Regions from separate parts of the Homo sapiens genome. Here regions 1 and 2 are each linked to region 3. The links are contacts of gene promoters, found by promoter capture Hi-C in blood cells and fetal thymus (Javierre and others, 2016). All regions are on one chromosome and are shown on one strand. Each heading gives the region's core, a stretch centred on a gene start or on the middle of the fragment in contact. The rest is flanking DNA. Distances are from core to core; before and after follow the strand shown.

What was found. Contacts are between HindIII fragments. The CHiCAGO score rates a contact against its expected background, and 5 or more counts as called.
Region 1: a fragment that was not itself captured here is called in contact with the fragment with the promoter of NR4A3 in region 3 in 3 of 17 cell types (M0 macrophages, M1 macrophages and M2 macrophages); the score reaches 13.1 in M0 macrophages.
Region 2: a contact is called between a fragment that was not itself captured here and the fragment with the promoter of NR4A3 in region 3, in 5 of 17 cell types (total B cells, naive B cells, fetal thymus and 2 more). The highest score is 9.9, in total B cells.

The regions. Positions count from the first base shown.
Region 1 is chr9:99,288,158-99,290,857 of GRCh38, forward strand. No RefSeq gene overlaps it. Among named protein-coding and RNA genes, the nearest start is that of SEC61B, 67 kb to the left of the region's middle. The HindIII fragment of the contact is 3,250 bases long and covers 1-2,700 here.
Region 2 is chr9:99,238,776-99,241,475 of GRCh38, forward strand. LOC124902230 (a long non-coding RNA gene) reads left to right here. Exons shown (of 2, transcript XR_007061690.1): 2 at 1,725-1,997. Among named protein-coding and RNA genes, the nearest start is that of SEC61B, 18 kb to the left of the region's middle. The HindIII fragment of the contact is 2,671 bases long and covers 9-2,679 here.
Region 3 is chr9:99,820,505-99,823,204 of GRCh38, forward strand. It overlaps NR4A3 (nuclear receptor subfamily 4 group A member 3), which reads left to right and starts at 1,381. Exons shown (of 8, transcript NM_006981.4): 1 at 1,381-1,903. RefSeq lists a silencer at 1,475-1,524 and an enhancer at 2,099-2,611. The HindIII fragment of the contact is 5,731 bases long and covers 1-2,403 here.

The sequences.
Region 1 (2,700 bases), core at 119-2,618, 530 kb before region 3:
AAAGAAAGCCACCAAAAGTACTGCTTGACTACGGAAGACTATAGATGCTATGTCTGTGTGTGTGTGTGTGTGTGTGTGTGTGTGTGTGTGTGTGTGTGTGTGTGTGTGTGGTGTCTATAGCAGCTATAGTGCTGTATCTAAGTCATACAAAAGTTCTGATGTGACCCCAGCTAATTCCAGCCTTCCATTAACTGAAGCCATTTGCTCCTTGACTGGTTGGGTCTTCTTCAGGTTCTGAGATCAATAGTTTCACAAGACAGCTAATTAGCCCACATTCAGAAGCTCAAGAGCTTCATCAGGTCCTGCACCAGACAAACCTACCTCTGCTGTGAATTGGAATTGAGCCTATCCCTCCCTCCATTCTGCCAGGCTTGGCCTCGTTTTCCTCTTCATATCACTTGGGGTTCAGTCAGAGAAGCAGAGCCACTTGGTGAGACAGACACAGTAAGGGGTTGGCTATAGACATTTCACCTTATATAATTGCGGGGACTGGTCTATGCAAGGCCATTATTTCTGTGTCTGGTGCTGGGGCCTGAAGTCAGCATCAGATACAGAAGTGGGGAAGAAATGATGGACAGGAAGTGGAGAACTGAGGTTAAAATGGATCGGCTGGAACTCAGGGAATGGGGTGGAATCCACACTGGTATCTCACTTCACCCAAGACTCCAACTTTGATGAGGGGGATGATTTACAGAAGTTATGCATTTTCTTATGGAACAAAAACAAAATGCTGAACTGGCCCAGGGATCAGGGGAGCTGAAACAAGAGCGTCTGCAGGAGCTGGTGGGCTTCGGGGGGGCCGCAGTTCCCAATGCTGGCCCACACCACCCAGAAGATATGTGACAATGTCTGTGAGGGCTTGTGCCCTGCCCTGGCCTCTGAACATAACAAGAATGTGGCTGCTGCTGCCTTTCCTTGTTCTGAATCTCTTGCAAAGTGTACTTGTGGCCAAAGCTGACCTGGCACGAACCAGAAAAGGGAATTCTAAGAAACACAACTCCAGCTTCACTAAATTGACACTGTAAAGCCCCCACACGTCGTGAGGCTGCAGTCTCATCATTGACTTTGGACTGAGGGCTACCTGATGGCTTTGTAGTTCACCTGTCTTCTTACTTTGTCCCAGCGCCTGTCCAGGTCAATGGAAGCAGTTTCCCTGTGTGTACCAGGCACTCCCAGCTTGGCCCTCCCAGAACTTCGCCCCACCCCTTCATGGTCTGGATTTCAGAAACCAGATCTAATTCCAGCTGAAAGTCGAGGGAGTTTACGGAAAAATCTATGTGGATGTGGGCATCTTAGAACGAGGCTTTCCTCTTCTGTTCTGGATTCATGGGGAGCTTTAGGAAGGTGAAGCTGTGTGTGAGAAGGCTTCTCAGAGATACCGTGGAGTTCAAGGCTCAGGAATCCATACTTGGGAGCATGAAGTTAATATGGATGCTGCATTCACCTGGTCCAGGAACTCCTGCTTTCCTCTCAGCCCCATCCTGGAGGGGTAGTACTGGACATTCCTGGTGTTTCGGGAGGCCAGGCATTATAGACAGCCTGGTCCAAACCTTTCATTGTTCTTCTAGAGGCATTGAGAATAGCAGCCTCATTAGGAGCAATGGCTGGAAGTAGACTGCCTAGCTTCACATTAGGGCTGACCTCGTATTAGGGCATGTGACCTTGGGCACATTACTTGCCCTCTCTATCCTTGATTTCTTCATATGTAAAATAGGGGAAAACAGTAGTACCTACCTTGGACTGTTATGCCTATTAACTGACAAGTGGGCTAAGTGTCTGGCACCTAATAAATGCTCAATAAAAAGTATTATTATATATAGACCATTTCCCCATAACCAGAGCCCTCTAACTCAAGGAAGCAGGCTATGGGGACTTCCTCCAGTTCTGGGTGGTTCTTCATCACAACTATCCCTCAAACTCATAGCTGGCTGTTGGTCACCTCTTTCCAACATGTACACCATTCTGCCTTGCACTGGAGTTAGCTGCTGGCTTGTCTGTCTTCTCACTAAACTGGCTGTATTAGTCAGGGTTCTCTAGAGGGACAGAACTAATAGGATATATATATAAAATCCTATTAATACTTAAACTCCCATATATATATAAATATATAAATAAATACATATATGAAGGGGAGTTTATTAAGTATTAACTCAAGTGATCACAAGGTCCCAAAACAGGCCGTGTGCAAGTTGAGGAGCAAGGAGACATCCAATCCAAGTCCCAAAACTGTAGAACTTGGAGTCTGATGTTTGAGGGCAGGAAGCATCCAGCACGGGAGAAGATGTAGGCTGGCAGGCTAGGCCAGTCTAGCTTTTTCATGTTTTTCTACCTGCTTTATATTCTAGCTGTGCTGGCAGCTGATTATATGGTGCCCACCCAGATTAACGGTGGGTCTGCCTTTCCCAGCCCACTGACTCAGATGTTAATCTCTTTCGGCAATACCCTTACAGACATACCCAAGATTAATACTTTGCATCCTTCAAGCCAATCAAGTTGACACTCAGTATTAACCATCACACTGGGGTTTCACTTAGCATCACTAGGAGCTGGGTCTACTTCATCCTTTCCCAGCACACAGCCTGGCAGATACTAGGCCTGCAGAAAAGTTTGGGGGGAACCAACATCTTCAATTCCCAGAACGTCTGATTTGCAAAGACTTGGAGGTTGTCTAAACCAATTTCCCACCAATTTTAGGAATTC
Region 2 (2,700 bases), core at 94-2,593, 580 kb before region 3:
TGAAAGAAAGCTTGTCCCCATTAGGATTTGGGCATATTTAGACACAAATTGGAAGTGCCAGACACCTGGTCTTTCAAGGAGAACAATTTCCAAATTCCTTTTCTGAGTGCCATACATTCTGCATCTCCCAACCTAGTTTGCTTTGTGCTTGGCTCTTTGCTCTTCTCCACCAAGCCCCCCCTCCCCCCGCTCTGCCCACCACATTTTTCAACATTACTGGTTTTAATTTCCTTTACCATCCCCGTTGCAAAAACTTCTTTCCTGATTTAATTACTATTTCTCTTAATTCAATTTTATGCTCTTGATTGTCGTTAAACTCCTAAAGTTGTTTCTCCAAAGAATTTAATGGCTAGGCCTTGTGCTTAGAGATTAATTGTTGTCATTTTGCTTTCAAGCACAGGTACTTTCTTACTTCTCTTCAGTTATCTTTGGGAGAAAGGAAAGTGACCATCCTTCTTCCCAGGGCTGCTCTGAGAACAAACACTGCCGGGGGCTGCCTTTTGAGAGAGAGAGAAAGCCAGACCTCTTAAATTTGTCTTCCACCTTCTACTGACTCTAATCTCAGCATCTGTGAATAGCCAGAGAACCTCTGGCTCCTCAGGTGGGCTCAGGCCATGAACGGATTGTAGGGAGGGCTCTAAAAACAGCAGCCCAGGCTTGAGATAGGGTGGCTTTCTGCCAGGAGGGATTTGCACAGTGAAGAGGGGGAACAAGGGCTGGCTCTAGCCTCAAACATCCTGCCTGGCCAAGGTCCCCCAGAGGAACTAAGCCTGTGACTCAAAGGAAAAAGGAATACTTTTGGTTAGAATTTCCCTTCCCTGGAATGTCCCTCTTGGGGATAAACCTACTCCTGAGCATCTTTCTCACGTTCACTGTACAGTAGCTAAAAGGCTTTGACCTTTGAGTCTTCTCCCTGCAGCCCACAAACTCTTGATTTTCCCACCTCTGTCACCCCTGGATCTCCTGTTTTCCTGTGCAGATCCTTGACAAACAGTGGCCAGAGGTAGAGGAATGATTTCAGGCTGGAGCTCTGGCAAGCTCCCTTTACAATCCAGTTGTGTAACTCTGCCCCTGTGTGGGTGAAGCAACCCTGAAAGGTAGAAAGCACAGGCTCTGGGGCGGGCCTTAGACCCTGCCTGGCACTTAATGAGCCATGTGATCTCGTGGCTCAGCTGCCTCTGAACCTCAGTTCCCTGGTCTGTGGATAATCAGATATAGAACCGTATAGAAGGGATGCGGGGCTGACTTTTATTTCATGTGAGGGTTAAATGAAAGAATTGAAGTAAAGTATTCAGCACAGTTTCCTGGCACATAAGCCTTAAATAACAAATATTATCAACATTGAGTAGCATTTGGTCCTACATCAGTCATAGAATCTTCAACTTTTAGGACTGAAAAGGAAACCGAAGTCCTGTAGGCCAACCTTCCCTCCCCACTCCCAATTTGATTATGAAATCCTCTATTCAGCCTTTGACTTTGCTAGCAGACCTTTTGTGATGGGGCAGCTCACAGCTCTTGGGGAATCCCTGCCTTCTTTGGGCCATTCTGTAAATGTCAAGGAAGAGCTCTGTGTACATGTGTGATGTATTTAAACTGCTTTCCAGTTGCAGGGAACAGGAAGCCTTTCCCTATTCCCTATTCAGGTACAATAATGTAGGCTGCTAGGGAACAAGATCGAACAATTGGAGAAGGCTTTTGTGGCTAACTCAGTGACGTACTTGCAGGTGAGGGTTCCAGACTCCAGAGTCTCCCTTTACCTAGTTCTTGGGAGTCTAGTGCAGCTGAAGACGAGGTACTGCGGATGAAGAGGAAGACGAGGTACTGCGGATGAAGAGAAACCCAGATGATCCAGGCACATTTTATAGACAAGGCCTCAACGACCCCAAAGGAACCTTTGAAATCACCCTTTTCCTGGGTTCACGACGACTTGTAAACGATACCATCCATCCCTGCTTATTCATAGTTATTAAATACCAGAATAAAGAGATTAGAGCTCATGAGGTGCTTCGTCCCCATCACTCGGGCTGCTTGGCTGCATTTATGATGAGAAGGCTCTGGGTGTTTAATAAAGTATCTGATATGTCTAATAAAATCCTCCCATGGCCCTGCTGATGTTACTATAATAGCTTCATGTCACATGCTCTTGTGCTATTGAGCCAGTACCAGAACATATTTTAAATTCTTATTATGTCTATTTAATTTTTATTTAAAGGAAATTTTCAAGGTTTAAAGCAGGTACCGAGGTACCTAGGTGTGAAGACCTAGAAATGTGCTGTAATATTTATCAAAATAGTAATGGAGTGATTTAAGGATAGTATAGGAATAAGCAACTGTGCATTCGTGGCTTATCTAGTTATAGATCTGTACTGTTCCCCTAAGAACTGCAATTTGTGAAATAATGGCTTCTCATTGTTATGCCACATCTATTTATAAAAAGCTGAGTTTATTCTCAGTGCTCAGTAGTTTTTTTTTGTTTTTTTTTTTTGAGACAGAGTCTCCCTCTGTTGACCAGACTGGAGCACAGTGGTGCGATCTCGGTTCACTGCAATCTCCGCCTCCCCGGTTCAAGCAATTCTTATGTCTCAGCTTCCTGAATAGCTAGGATTATAGGCGTGAGCCACTACGCCAGGCCTCAGTACTTAAAAGATTTTATCTTACTTTAATGATATATTTTATATAAGCTTCTGGAAGGTTAGAGCA
Region 3 (2,700 bases), core at 131-2,630:
CTGTCTACAAAGGAATCTTGTATCTCCCCTCGGCGCAGCGCCCCCCGCCCCCGCCACACACACACAAATTGGGACAGGTCAAACATATAAAACGGTATTTGTGATTCAAGCGGACCACATGGGGACCACTCTATCTGCATTGTTTCACTCAAATATTTTCTCCTGTCCAAAAATTCATTTCTGAAAGAGACTGCGTTCACTCAGCAGCAACCTTTGGGACTAGGGGTCTTTAACTCTGATAAATTTTGTTTTCATCAAGAAATTTACACTTAAATTTATCATTTCCAGGAAGAAATTGCTCTCCTTCATACAGTCACCCAGGCTTTCGGCACACCATTTCATGACAAATGTGTCCGAGGAGACCAAAGCAAATCCCCTAGCGAGGGACTGACTAATAAGTCCTGTTGATTGATTTCGAAATGTTTAATTTGGGAGATGTGGGCGGAGGGCATCTACAACCATCAAAAAGTGAAAGTGCTAGTTGAGAGTTCCATTTCTGACCCGGTGCCGGGGAGGAGGAATGATTTGCAATAGTCAGACCCGCTCAGCTGTTCAACACGTGTGTGTTTGTTTTACACACAGAGTAGTTTCTGCTGCAGCGCGCGTGTGCATGATGGATGTGCACTTCGCTGGGTTATAACGTGTCCAGTTAAGAAACCCACGCCGTACGTGTAAAGAAATCAAACCTTATCCCCGGAACCATCTGCATCCCTGTGTGAAACACGCACCCAGTAAATGATGCGGGGAGGGGGGATTAGCCTGGGCGCAGAGGACCGGAGCAACGTAAACAGCTTTAGAACCTATGCAAGAGGAAAGTGCAGCTGCACCTCAGGGCGTCTTCGGGCTGGTGCCAGACGCCTTCTGCACCGGCTGCCAGGTCACTGGAGCTGGTCAGAAGCTGGCTGGCGGAGCCTTCCCTTTCGGAAGAGCTGTCCTCTCCCTTACCCCCCTCGCCCTGGCTCCGTGCCTCGGGGCAGCCTCGGAGGCGCGCCAGCAGCACTCCTCCAACTCTACTCCACCCGAGCCTGACAGCTGGGCGGTCCCGCCTGACCCGTGGGCAGGCCGCTGCACCCTCCCGCAGACGCACGCCCTGGCGAGCGGTTCCGCTGCAAAAAGAGAAGCCCCCAGGCCGGGGCCGGCCGTGCGGCGGAGTTTCCATTGTGCGGCCGTGCGACTGGCCGAGGAACGCGCGCGCGCGCGCGCGCACACGAACACACACACCCTCCCTCGCACACGCGGAACCGGCTGGGCCAGGGGAGGGAGGAGGAGGGTGACGTAGCGTCCCATGGCGTCACATTGACGTCTCGCATTCCAGGCACTCTATGGAGAGGCCGCTAGGGCTCCTGTGGCATAAATGACGTGCCGAGAGAGCGAGCGAACGCGCAGCCGGGAGAGCGGAGTCTCCTGCCTCCCGCCCCCCACCCCTCCAGCTCCTGCTCCTCCTCCGCTCCCCATACACAGACGCGCTCACACCCGCTCCCTCACTCGCACACACAGACACAAGCGCGCACACAGGCTCCGCACACACACTTCGCTCTCCCGCGCGCTCACACCCCTCTTGCCCTGAGCCCTTGCCGGTGCAGCGCGGCGCCGCAGCTGGACGCCCCTCCCGGGCTCACTTTGCAACGCTGACGGTGCCGGCAGTGGCCGTGGAGGTGGGAACAGCGGCGGCATCCTCCCCCCTGGTCACAGCCCAAGCCAGGACGCCCGCGGAACCTCTCGGCTGTGCTCTCCCATGAGTCGGGATCGCAGCATCCCCCACCAGCCGCTCACCGCCTCCGGGAGCCGCTGGGCTTGTACACCGCAGCCCTTCCGGGACAGCAGCTGTGACTCCCCCCCAGTGCAGATTTCGGGACAGCTCTCTAGAAACTCGCTCTAAAGACGGAACCGCCACAGCACTCAAGTACGTATGAGATTCGCCCAGTTAATAAGGGGACTTGCTAAAAAAGTTGGCTTGCTGGGAAGCGTCGCTCCTGAAATTGACAACTTTGAGTGTGGGGTTCCCTCCCCTGACCTTGCCGCCCGGCTCCGGCTTTGCTAGCCCAGCGGCCCGTAGGTTCTGATCTGAAACTTTTCCCCTGTAGTGGGCCCGCGGGGATCTCTGGAGCTCGTGGGATTCCTCCCCCCACTCGAAGAGGCGAAAAGCCTCTAACAAAGAGGAGGACCGGGATTTGTGCTATAGCGGCTCCAGCGATGTAATTCAGGGTATTTCGGCTCTAGTTGTCATGGTAATGATGCTCTCGGCGGCGGCGGCGGCGGCGGCAGCGGCAGCGGCAGGGAGTTGCAGCTCCGGTGATGAACGGCAGTAATTTTCCTGCCTTTTAAGTAGGATTGAAAATAGGAGCTCTGGTGGGTCCAAGTAAATGTTGCTAATGGTGGCACCGAGCTGGTTCTCTGGAAGGAAGCTTAGGAGGGAAGGGCCTAGGCAGCGACGGCCAGAGTTTGCAGACGCACTCGGAGGACCTCAGGAAAGAGGGCGTAATTGTAGGAATGTGGCTTATTGTATTGAAATGAGCCTGGGGTTCCACTAGGCACGTCTGCCTGTCGTCGCTGACATGCCGGTTTACACTTTTCCCTTAGGAGGTAAATCGGGTGTAATTGGCGACTCCCGCACACTGACACGTGTGGGGACGGTGTCCCTCTCCTCTGGACGTTGGCTCGGTGTGGGAAAGGCATGCTTTTTCACGGACAGAACTCGCG